Linked DNA regions of Homo sapiens: region 1 is linked to region 2. The links are contacts of gene promoters, found by promoter capture Hi-C in blood cells and fetal thymus (Javierre and others, 2016). All regions are on one chromosome and are shown on one strand. Each heading gives the region's core, a stretch centred on a gene start or on the middle of the fragment in contact. The rest is flanking DNA. Distances are from core to core; before and after follow the strand shown. Region 1 holds the start of IFT27 (intraflagellar transport 27). Region 2 holds the start of MFNG (MFNG O-fucosylpeptide 3-beta-N-acetylglucosaminyltransferase).

Region 1 (5,609 bases), core at 3,110-5,609, 710 kb after region 2:
ATGTTGCTGCTGTCCCTGGCAGGGAGCCGTGGCTCATCCGCATGCTGCTCTTCAGGGATGTCGGGACGTGTTCAACCCCAGGATGATTGAACAATTTCTGGGAACAACTTGTCAGCAGCTGCCCCTCCACTCCCCTCTTATCCAAAGCCCCAGTAATCAGCCCCAACAGTCTAGTCCCTGGCTTTGGGAAGCAGCACTGTTAATACTTCCTCTTCCACAGAGCATATGGGTGTAGCTAGGGGTGCAGGCTAGGGGTGGGAGAGGACCCAGGATGAGGTTACCCCATCTGAATGGTCATTGCACATCTCTCAGTAGTAAGCCCATTGCTTGCCCAAAAACTGATATTCAAGAGTTGGTGCTTGTTGAATGAATGAATACACAACCGGAAGGGTAAACCCTATGAGAGTCATTCATTCATTCAGAAGTATTTACGGGGTGCCTCACCATGCAGGGGACTGTCCTAGATACTGGGTGAACAAAAGAGACCAAGTGTCAGTTCTCATGAAGCTTACCTTCTAGTGGAGGGCGACAGATACCATATAAATAAACTAATAAATATGGAATATAGGTGGCCCTCTGCATCCACGGGTTCCACATCTCTGGATTCAACTAACTGCACATTGCAAAAATAAAAAAATAACAATACAACAATAAAAATAATACAGATAAAATACAGTATACCAATATTTCTATAGCATTTCCATTGTATTAGTTATTGAAAGTAATCTAGAGGTGACTTAAAGTATACAGGAGGACGTGTGTAGGTTTTGTGCAAATATTACAACATTTTATATAGGGGACTTGAGTAGCCCTGGATTTTGATATCCATGGTTACCAATCCCCCACGGATACAGAGGGACAGACTGTGTAATCTCTGGTAGTAGTGAACGCTATGAAGAAAGTAAAGTAAGTCAAGGATATTGAGACTGACAGATTGGGGGCGATGCTTAAATTGTGTGTTTGGGAGGGCTCCCCGAAGGCATGACGTTTGAGCTGAGATCTGAAGATCATGAAGGAGAGTCATACAGCCTCATTGGGAACAGTGCGTACAAAGGCCCTGCGGTGGGAACGTTCCCGAGGAGCTTGAAAAACAGTAAAATGACCCAATAGAGTAGATAAAGGTGGGTCCTGGCATTAGCTAAGAAAAGCAGTTCTCAACATGAGCTTGTGTCGGAGTCACCAGGAGGCCTTATGGAAGCAGATTGTGGGCTCCACCTCCAGTGTTCAGCTGGTCAGGGGTGGGGCCTGGGAAAATGCATTTCTTACTAATCCCCAGGTGATGCTGGTGTGCCAGTCCAGGGATCAGAGCATAGGGTATTTGTTCTTTCTGCACCACATCCTCCCCTATTCAACATTGACTACATGCAATCATAGATCATTACTGCTTGATCATCTGCCGCTCCACTGGGCTAGATGGTTCTGTCCACCTCTACGTCCTAGTGCTTAGCAAGCACTCAACAGAATATTTGTTGAATTAATTCCTCAAACAAGGGTTCTACTCTGGGTCTTGCCATTCCACCGTGTGTTCCATCTGCTGCCCTCCCAGAGCTCTGAGCCTTTGCATGTGCTGACCCATCCACCCAGCATTTGCCTTCCCCTGTGTCCACCTCGCAAATTCCTACAAGGCTCTCCTTTCAGAATATCCTTCCCGACTCCCTCTCCATCCACCCAGGGTTAGGAATGCTCCTCGAGGTGTACATAGGGAGTCCCATATCCACCTGTGGCACAGTGACTTGTCCACATGTTGGTCTTCCTTTCTTTACCAAAGATCGTAGATGAGCAGCCCCCAGGTTGAACCGGTCAACAGAGGTTTCTACTGCAGCTACAGTGTTTTAAATTTAAGTTCATTGCCAACACTAACAGGTCAGGGGATTTCACACAAAAATCCAGATTCCTGGCTCCTCTAGAAAAGTGTGCAACCCTGGGCCCGTATTCCCACATTGCCGTGATATCTCACCCAGAGGTAAAGCCTGGGGCTCTGTCATCCCCACCCTTCAGTGGATCCAGCAACCAACACCATGCCTGGCTGATGGTAGGCACTCAAGAAAAGCTAATTAATGAAAATGGAGAGACTATGCTGGATAATGGGGGAAAACAAAGAAACAAACATTGGTCCCCAGAGTCAAGAGATCTGAGGCTGGTTCTGGATCTGGCTGACTTGTTGCATGACCTTGGCCTCTCTGTGGCTCTTTCCTTTCTTCAAATGAATGAGAGTTTCCACTTCCCAGGGTCATGGTTTCATACAGGAGAGAGGATGTGAAGTGCTTAGCAGATGCCTCACATCTAATGCTCAATCAACGCAAGTTATTACGGCAAGGAACTCAATAAGTATTTGCTCTTTAGGAAGGGTGAGAAGGAGTTCAAATCCATCTCTGCTACTCACTAGCTAGGTGACCTTCGGTGTTTCACTTAATCTCATTTGGGCCCTAGTTTCCCCATCTATCAAATGGGGATGATACATGGTTATTGTGAATATCAAATGTAAATGTGAAATTAAACTAATTAATCCCTAAAATCACTTAGAACAAGGCCAGCCTTAAGTCTGTGGTCAACATAGGCCAGCTGTGACTATTAGAGCTGCTCAGAAATGGGATAACTCGAATTGCTCAGGAGCCCCCATGGCTCCAAAATTCTCTGACCACCTTAAACCTAGTGACTCTCATTCAGCTTACCTTCAGTCACAGAAATGTATAGAAGGCCCTTGGGTCCATGAGGTGAAGGGGGACAGAATTCACCATACAAGTGTTTACCATCTCTCTAGAAAGTTCTACAATGCTCTTATGATAATGCTGACTAAAATCACACAGAGTAGCAGCAACAAAAGGGAGACAGTGGGTGGGGAACAGAGAACAGCCCTGGGAGGGAGGTGTGATTATTACCTGCAAGAGTTAAAGAAAGAGGCAAGAAACATGAAAAGTGGCTCAACAGTTAAATACAGGTTTATTTTGGAGCATAAACCTGAGAGGGGCTTCTGGCCAATTTCAGTCAGGAGTGCTCTCTCTTACAGACTAAGAGTATTTAAGGGTTTAGGGCAAGAGAGCTTACCACAGGCTTGGAATGTTTCTGTGTGGAGGAGAAGTTTACTGTGGGGTTGGAATGTCTCCGGTCTGAGGGTGGGTTATGTTGGGGCTGACATCTCTCTGACCAGAGGGGAGGTTATCTTGGGGCTGCATGTCTCTGGTCGGGGGGTGGGTTTATCTTAGGGTTGGAATGTTTCTGATTGGAGATGTCACTTGTGGTTTATGGTCATTCTGACATTAGCCATTAGGCTGATGCCCTTTGGGTTGAATTTAGGCCGTTTTTGATCAAGGAGAACTTTAAAATGGCAGTGCTTGTCCAAGATGGCTATGCTCCGGCTCTGTCATTACCCACCTCGCAAAATGAAGGAACCAAGGCTTCGGAGGCTGCCCTGATGTGTGTCTGTGTCTTAGCTACGTGGAGCTGCCTCGGGAGGGTGACTCACCAAATGGGGTCCTTTAAGGGATTAACAGGGTCACTCATGGTGAACAGGTTGGCCTGGAGGGGAGCCGGCAAGAGGAAGGCAGAAGACCAGAAAGAGGCTTTTTGCTCACTCAGACCTGGATGTCTGAGACAGACTCACGTGATGTCACCAAAGAAGAAAAGCAGTTACGAGAAATGAAGGAGAAACAGACCTTTACCGTAGCGCCAGGAATGAATCCCAAGGAAAGAACATCTCAGACAACTTGCATTTACTCTGGATTCGGGGCTGAAACCATCAGCCATTCATAGAGTGTGTGTGTTTATTCCCCCACACAAGGCTGGCAGCCACTCTGAGATGCAGAGTGGCGGAGAGGTGGAATGTTCTAGGTGTCTGGAGGGAATGTGGAACTTTCGCACAGGCACCTTTGCTGAGGGGCTGCTCTTCCCTTCAGCATCAGCCATCAGAATCCCAGGGGCCCTGAGAAAGTGAGAACAAGGGGTACATTCGGCCAACCAGTGACAGTGATGATAAACCAAATCTGTCCAGATAAGCTTCCGCTCTCCCATCCACCCCACAATCACGTGTGCACCTACTATCTCCCAGGCACTCATACGTTTCTCTCCTTCCATCTCCACAACCACCCCACAAGGCGGGTTCTCCTAGGCCCATCCTGAGGCTGAGGGATGAGGTGACTTGTCCAGGCCAGGGATTTAGGTCTCTGACCCCCTAACCACGTGCAAGAGGCACCCCCAACCCAGTAAACGCGTACAGAGAGCCTCCCTGGGTGACGGGCAAACGAGGTTAGTGATGCATTCTCCTTTTGCAGAGAGTAAATGGACTAAGAGCAAAGTACGACTTCAAGTTTCCGAGTCTCACCGCTTAGCCCCATCAAAGTGTATTTGTTCTCCCTTTGTTCACAAACATCACTTTAATAAAACACCTTCATATTTTAGATTTTAACGCTCATTACATCTTTGAGCTTTTAAAATGAGATTTCCCTGCGGGATGCGGGGCAAGGACTGCACTTCTCCATGCACTTTAATAGCCGCGCTGTGCAGAACCCGGGAACCGGGGAAGCCGCGAGAACCGCGCGAAGTCAGAGCAAGTCAAAACGACCTCTACAGCGGCGGCCTGGCCCACTGCGCAGGCGCCGCTCCAGACCGCCTAGAGCCCAACCTGCCCCATTGTAGGCGAACCCACTTCTAGAAGGACAGCGGGAGTGGCGAATCCCTATTCCTCCCGAAGATGGGTCAAGCCAGACTCTGACCAATCAGAAAGCTTCTCTTGTCACCGCTTCTGACTGCTTGACGTGGAGGCTTCTTTATCTCGGGACTCTCAGGCGCAGCGGGGGCGGGATATAAAGCTGGTTGACGTCAATTACAACCACTCGTCAAGCAGACTGAACTTGAAGAACTGATAACTCTACGAATTGCATCTCAAGAAAAGGCTGTTATCCCAGCTCTCTACTCCCATTGGATTTTTGTGAGACCTTGAGGGTGGGAGCTTTTGGCGGCAACCAATCGAGGGTCAGCGAGGAGGAGGAGGAGGCGGGGCAGGTGGGCTATGGTTGCTTGGAGAGTGCATCCGGCCCGGTACTTGTGATCGGAGGAGAGCCGGATCGTCCTTCCTTGAACCCTCTGGGTAGGGCTGTGCTGAGGGGCTGGGCGGGGAGCACAGGCCGTGTCCGCTCGCTTGCACCTTTTCAGACTGCCGTGTCAGGCCTCGAGCCGGGCCCACCTGGAGCCCTCCCCTGCCCACCCGCCCCCAGCGCCCGATATCCGCCCCCGGCCCAGAAGGGCCGGGCTCGGTCATCCCCAGTCCCGTCGCGGCCACTGACCCTTGAGATCAGCCCTCCCCTCCCCACCTTCCCGTCCCAGGCCAGCCCAGGGCCCGAAGCCCACCCACTCGCGTCTCTAGCAGCCGCTCTTGTCCTCTGGGTACGGCTCGCGGGAGTGTTGGTTACCATGGTGAAGCTGGCAGCCAAATGCATCCTGGCAGGTGAGTCTGAAAACTTGCGCTTGAATACGGTGGTCTCTGGAGTCCAGAGCCTTCATAATTCATCCAGAGCTTTTGTTCACCTAAATTGCCTACCTTTTCCTTTCTCTCTCCCAAAGGCGAGTTACTGCAATTACTGATACAGTAAATTACGTTAGGCGTGGAAGAATGA
Region 2 (5,619 bases), core at 632-3,131:
AGTCATACAGCCAGTGAGTGGCCCAGTTGGGAATTTTTTTTTTTGAGATGGAGTTTCACTCTTGTTGCCTAGGCTGGAGTGCAATGGCGCCATCTCGGCTCACTGCAACCTCTGCCTCCCGGGTTCAAGTGATTCTCCTGCCTCAGCCTCCCTAGTAGCTGGGATTACAGGTGCCTGCCACAATGCCTAGCTAATTTTTGTATTTTTGGTAGAGACGGGGTTTCACCATGTTGGCCAGGCTGGTCTTGAACTCCTGACCTCAAGTGATCTGCCTGCCTTGGCCTCCCAAAGTGCTGGGAGTACAGGCGTGAGCCATGGCGCCCAGCCCCCAGTCAGGATTTAAACCTGGTCTGTGGGGTACAGAGTCTGGGATCATCACCAAGGCTGGCATCATCACCATTCTGAGAATATGGCCTGTGAAGGGGCCTGGCTGGGGGCTGGCCCATGAGAAGGTCATTCAAAGGGTTGGTTTTCCCTTCCTCTCCCCCAGCTGTCCTCATGCAGGGTTGAGCCCGGCAGGGCCACTTCCCTTTGCCAGCCACCTGGTACTTTGTTGTGTTGAATTAACATTGATTGAGTTCTTGTCTGCCGGTCACTGTTCTAGGCACTGGGGATTAGGGACTCAGTGATCAAAAAATAAATCCTGCCCTGATATTCTCATGAGGAGGACAGAAACTTAGTTAAACATACAGAATGTTGGAAGATGAAAAGTGTGATGAAGAAAACAGTGAAGTGGCTTGAGAGGGACAGGCCTGGGGGGCTGGGAAGGAGGCGGCGAGGGGTTGCAATGTTAATAACGTGGTCAGGGAAGGCCTCACAGAGACGGTGACCTTTGTGTAAAGACCAGAAGGGAGTGGGGGAGTGAGACGTGCAGGTCTCTAGGGAGGGGCCCAGGTGGGAACAGCAAGTGCCAAGGTCCTGTGGCGGCCAGGTGCCTGGGCCAGCGAGGGTCCCAGGTTCTGGAGTGGAGCAGGGTGAGTAGCAGGAGATGGGGTGGGAGTAACTTGGGAGCCAGCTCACGCAGGGCCTTGTGGGCTGCTGTGTGCGTTTTGGCTTTTGTTCTGAAGAAAATGGGAGCCAGTGCAGGCTCTGAGTGGAGGAGGGAGGAGGTGTGAGTGAGCTTGTGCGAAACAAGATGGAGGTGGTGGCTGGAGAAGGCCCTCTGTCTGTCCACTGGTCAGGTGCTGGGAGAGAGGCAGCTCCAGAGACTGCGGAGTGAGGTCGGGTATGGGCTGGGGCACAGCTGGACAGGTGCCCTCAGGGGACCTCCTGTGAACTAGATGAGGAACAGAGACCTGGGTTCTGCCAGCTCTGCGGCTGAGTTGCTGGATCGTTTTTGCTCATTCTGTGCCTTTGTGCCTTATGTCTTCAGCTATAAACTGGGAACGACAGTCCCAGTGCTGTTGTGAAGACCTCAGGAACTGAGCGAACAACTGTGGGAGCCCCAGAGGTTAAGAGGTTATCACGGAAGGCTTCCTGGAGGAGGGAACCCTTAAGCTTTGAAGTCCAGATAGAACTCAGCCTAGTGGAGGGAATGTGGGTGAGGCTGGTGGAATATGGGAGAGCATCCCGGAGGAAACCTGTGAGCAAAAGCTGGGGGCTGGGTGAAGCAGGACACCAAAGTAATGGGTGTTGAATGGGCCGAGCTGACAGCTCTCTGGGGGAGTGGACGGTGCTGGAGGACACTCCCTTCCACCGGGCACGGAGGGTTTGTTGTGACTTCCTCCCACCGCAGCAGCTGGCAGAGCCGGGGCTGCCCTTTCTGCTGGTGCCTCCTTTCAGCCGCCTCTGTCTGGGGTTCCCTTCGTCTGGCCCCGCCCCTCGGGCTAAGCGGGGCGGGGCCAGGCGGTCCCGGAGGCTGCGGCAGGCCGGACAGCGGGAGCAGGTGGAGGACTGGCGGCGGTCGAGATCGTGCTGCCATGGCTCAGCCTCTGGGTCCAGAGCCTCAGCTCCTACCTCTTCCCTCCTTGCCAGCCCCTGATGCCTGCCAGACTTTTGCCTCTGCTGGAGCCCCTGCCTGACCAGCTTCCCCTCCCTGTCTGGTTGGGATTTGGGGGCTGAGCTGTCTGGGGTCCCAGGGCCAACCAATGCAGTGCCGGCTCCCGCGGGGCCTGGCTGGAGCCCTCCTCACCCTCCTGTGCATGGGGCTCCTGTGTCTGCGGTACCACTTGAACCTGTCCCCGCAGCGGGTACAAGGGACCCCCGAGCTGAGCCAGCCGAACCCGGGGCCCCCTAAGCTACAGCTACACGATGTCTTCATTGCAGTGAAGACGACCCGGGCTTTCCACCGCTTGCGCCTGGAGCTGCTGCTTGACACGTGGGTTTCCAGGACCAGGGAACAGGTGACAAGTGGGTGACATTGGGCCCTGGGGGTGGCCCCTGGCCTAAGGGGTTCTCAGAGGCCTTTCTACTGGGCTGGGGTCCCTGACTGCCTCATGGGAGAAGCTGCTCAATACCTGCCTAATCAGGGATCCTCTTCCTCTCTCCTTCTTCCGGGCTTTAGGGGCTGCCTGCGGCCCTGCCCGTGCCCTGTACTGGTCCTGACTCCAGGTGCACCCAGGTCCTACCGCTCCACCACTTTTGGGGGCCAGGCTGGGCCCCTGCTCCAGGCTCCCGGGTCCCTCCTGGGGGTTCTTCTATTCCTAGCCGCTCCCGTGGGGGCTTCGCTCCTAGCCACCCAGGCCCAGCCTGGCATCAGGGGTAATGGTGGGTGTTGGGCAGCTGGGGTGGAGGCCTCCAAGAGGTCCTGACCCAGACCCGTGCCCAGGCCAGGCTGTCCCACCCAGGCCCTAGGTGCTGTCCTGCCCGGGCTCTGAGGGTGGAGGACGGGAGGAGAATGGTGGGGTCTGTTCTTGGGGGAGGCATCCCTTCGGCCTTCCCGATAGCCCCTGCCGCTGTGTCTCTGCTGCCCCGGGTGTGCCGAGGCCGCCATGTCTGGCCTCCTGTGTTGGCTTCCTGCGGACTGCTTCCGAGGGAGGGAAGGAGAGCGCATGCCACGAGGGTGGCGGCTGAGGCAGTGGTGGGCCGGAGGTTGGGGAGGCCTGCCTGGCACGTGGGATTGTGTGTGTGTGTGTGTGTGTGCTCACACGCACGGAGCTGGAGTGTGCTAGATGTGTGTGACAAGAGGCATGTCTGTCACATGGCTGTGCGGCTCCGGCGAGCCAAGTCCCTTCCAGCCCTTTCCCTCCTCGCATCCAGTATCTTCCTTAAGCAAAGTTAGTGATGTCGGTGTTAGGGACCGTTGATGGGGGAGGTGGAGAATGGGTACACACACACACACACACACACACACATCGGTCCCCTCTTTGGCGGCTGGCTCAGTGGGAGGAAGTGACTGAGTCTTTGGAGATAGTCGAGACCTCCTGGAAGACCAAAAGGAGGGGGAGAGGATGGCTGGCAGAGGCCAGGCCCTCCTGGGGAGGGGCACCCTGCCCTGATTTCTGCCCTCGTACTTGGGATTAACTCTTCCCCAGCTGGCCCCCAGCACCTCAGCTCTTCTCTGGGCCCCACACGGCTTCTCATCTTGGGGAGATCCTGGTTCTTCCTGCGGAAGCAGCCAAGGCGGGCCCTCCCGCAGGCCTTCCTGTTTATGCGTCTGTGTACCCGGGAGCGTGGCCTCACGTGGCCCACGGCCCTTTCCTGTCTTATCTCCATCACCGCGGTGGTGCCCTTGCCCCGGATGAGGAAACTGAGGCCAGAGAGAGGAAGTGCTGGCTGGCGTGGTGTCACGCAGAAGGCCTGAGGGGACAGAGCCCAGTGGGACCTAGAACCTTGCTCCTGGTTGGGTGCTTTTCTCCCCTGCTGAGACTTGGGAACCCTGTGAGGACTGGGTCACTGGGCTACAGGAGTCGCTACCCCACGTCTCTCACCCTTTGGCTCACTTCTCTCTGTGACCTCAGCCAAGGCCCTCCCCTTTCGGCCCGCAGTTTCCCCATCTGCACGGGGCAGGAGTGTCTGGACCGGGCCTGAGCTGGTTAACTGCAGCGCTGGGCGCCCGCCTGGCTGGTTAAGGGCGGTCGGGTGGCAGGTGGGCCTTGCGGCAGGGGCCGGGACTCGTGTGCCGGCCTTTGTCCTGGGCTGAGGGGGTGGGCTGGGGGAGGCGGGTTTTGTGCTCAAGGCGAGCCTTTCTCCTCCCTATGGTCCCCTTGTTGGGGGGAGAGGTGGCAGCAGCCCCACCACTCCCCTCCTCTGCAGCAGATGGTCCCCGGCCACCCCTCCCCTGCCCCAGCAGGCTGCGTGTCCCTTTGTTTCCCGCGGCTGCCTGTGAAGTTTTCACCATTGTCAGGTCCCCTCCTTAAACAAGTCAAATGCAGCCCTTGGCTCCAAAGAAACTCTGCCCATCGCTCTGTGCCAACCTTAGGATTCCCAGGGACTGAAAGCGCCAGCCTCACTGCCCTCTCCTGTGCCCCCGCCCCCTCTGGACCTGGACTCCCCTTCCCGGCTCTCTCCCTCACTCTGTTCATGGCTGCTGGTGTTTTGTTTTGTTTATTTTGAGACAGAGTCTCACTCTGTTTTCCAGGCTGGAGTGCAGTGGCACGATCCTGGCTCACTGCAACCTCCGCCTCCTGGTTTCAAGTGATCCTCAGCTTCCTGAGTAGCTTGGACTACAGGCATGCGCACCACGCCCGGCTAATTTTTCTATTTTTAGTAGAGATGGGGTTTTGCCATGTTGGCCAGGCTGGTCTTGAACTCCTGGCCTCAAATGATCCACCTGCCTTGGCCTCCCAAAGTGCCTATTCTCCTGCTTTATTCAGGCTTACTAGATCTTCACCGGGAAACAGTCCTCAGCCCATTTGGCCCATGCTCCAAGCTTGAGAGTGTTTCACTATCGGGTGGCTGTTTGGTGGCAAAAGTTTGTCGAGGGCAGGGTAGGAAAGGCCTGGTTTCTTTGATAGGATCCCTTGAGGCTGTGTTGAAAACCGACTTGGGGTGGAGGCAGGGAGCAGGGAGGCCAGGGAGGAGGGCCTGCAGCAAAGCAGGCAGCAGGTGACGACAGTGGCGGGGACTAGGTGGCCGGGTGGGCCGGAGGGAAGAGCAGCGTCCCAGACGATTTGGAGGCTGGTGAGCAGAATTGATGACAGGCTCGGGAAGAGGTGTGAGAGGAAGAGAGGAGGAGCGGGGAGTCTGAGGTTTTGGGTCCCAACCAGTGAGAGGGAGGAGCAGGTCTTGGGGAGAACGGGGGCTCAGTCTTGATGTGTTAAGCCCCCAGGAGACGTCATGGTTTCAGGGGATTTGACAGTTTGGAGCTCAGGGAGAGGCTAGGGCTGGTGGTGTCCACGAGTCTCCAGCTCCCTGATGGTGTTTAAAGCTGAGAGGCTGCATGGCGTCACTGACGGAGTGGGCTTCATGGAGAAGCGGACCAGGGTCTAGGCTTGGACCACCACCATTTCCCCCTGCGGAAATCCAGAGACCTCCAGCATTCGCTAAATCTGACGGTGGGAGACAGACCCCAGGGAGAGAGGCTCAGAGGGTGGATGCTGCACAGGCCTTCCTGAGGAGAGCCAGGTGCCGGAGCAAGGAGACAAATTGGACCCAGCCTGTGGTCTCCAGGATGCCATCGTCTGGTGGAAGAGACGGGGAGAGAAATTTCTGTAACCAGGGAGTTTTGCTAACTGCTGT

What was found. The method cuts DNA at HindIII sites, captures the fragments that hold promoters and counts their contacts. A CHiCAGO score of 5 or more calls a contact.
Region 1: a contact is called between a fragment that was not itself captured here and the fragment with the promoter of MFNG in region 2, in 5 of 17 cell types (fetal thymus, naive CD4 T cells, non-activated CD4 T cells and 2 more). The highest score is 8.1, in fetal thymus.

What each region holds. Positions count from the first base shown.
Region 1 is chr22:36,775,505-36,781,113 of GRCh38, reverse strand. It overlaps IFT27 (intraflagellar transport 27), which reads left to right and starts at 4,995. Exons shown (of 7, transcript NM_001177701.3): 1 at 4,995-5,440. The coding sequence starts at 5,407. RefSeq lists enhancers at 3,603-4,166, 4,694-4,953, 4,732-5,295 and silencers at 5,194-5,243, 5,374-5,433. The HindIII fragment of the contact is 727 bases long and covers 3,996-4,722 here.
Region 2 is chr22:37,482,646-37,488,264 of GRCh38, reverse strand. It overlaps MFNG (MFNG O-fucosylpeptide 3-beta-N-acetylglucosaminyltransferase), which reads left to right and starts at 1,881. Exons shown (of 8, transcript NM_002405.4): 1 at 1,881-2,342. The coding sequence starts at 2,088. RefSeq lists enhancers at 479-988, 989-1,500, 1,501-2,010, 2,487-2,536, 2,937-2,996 and 2 more and a silencer at 1,787-1,916. The HindIII fragment of the contact is 3,313 bases long and covers 1,500-4,812 here.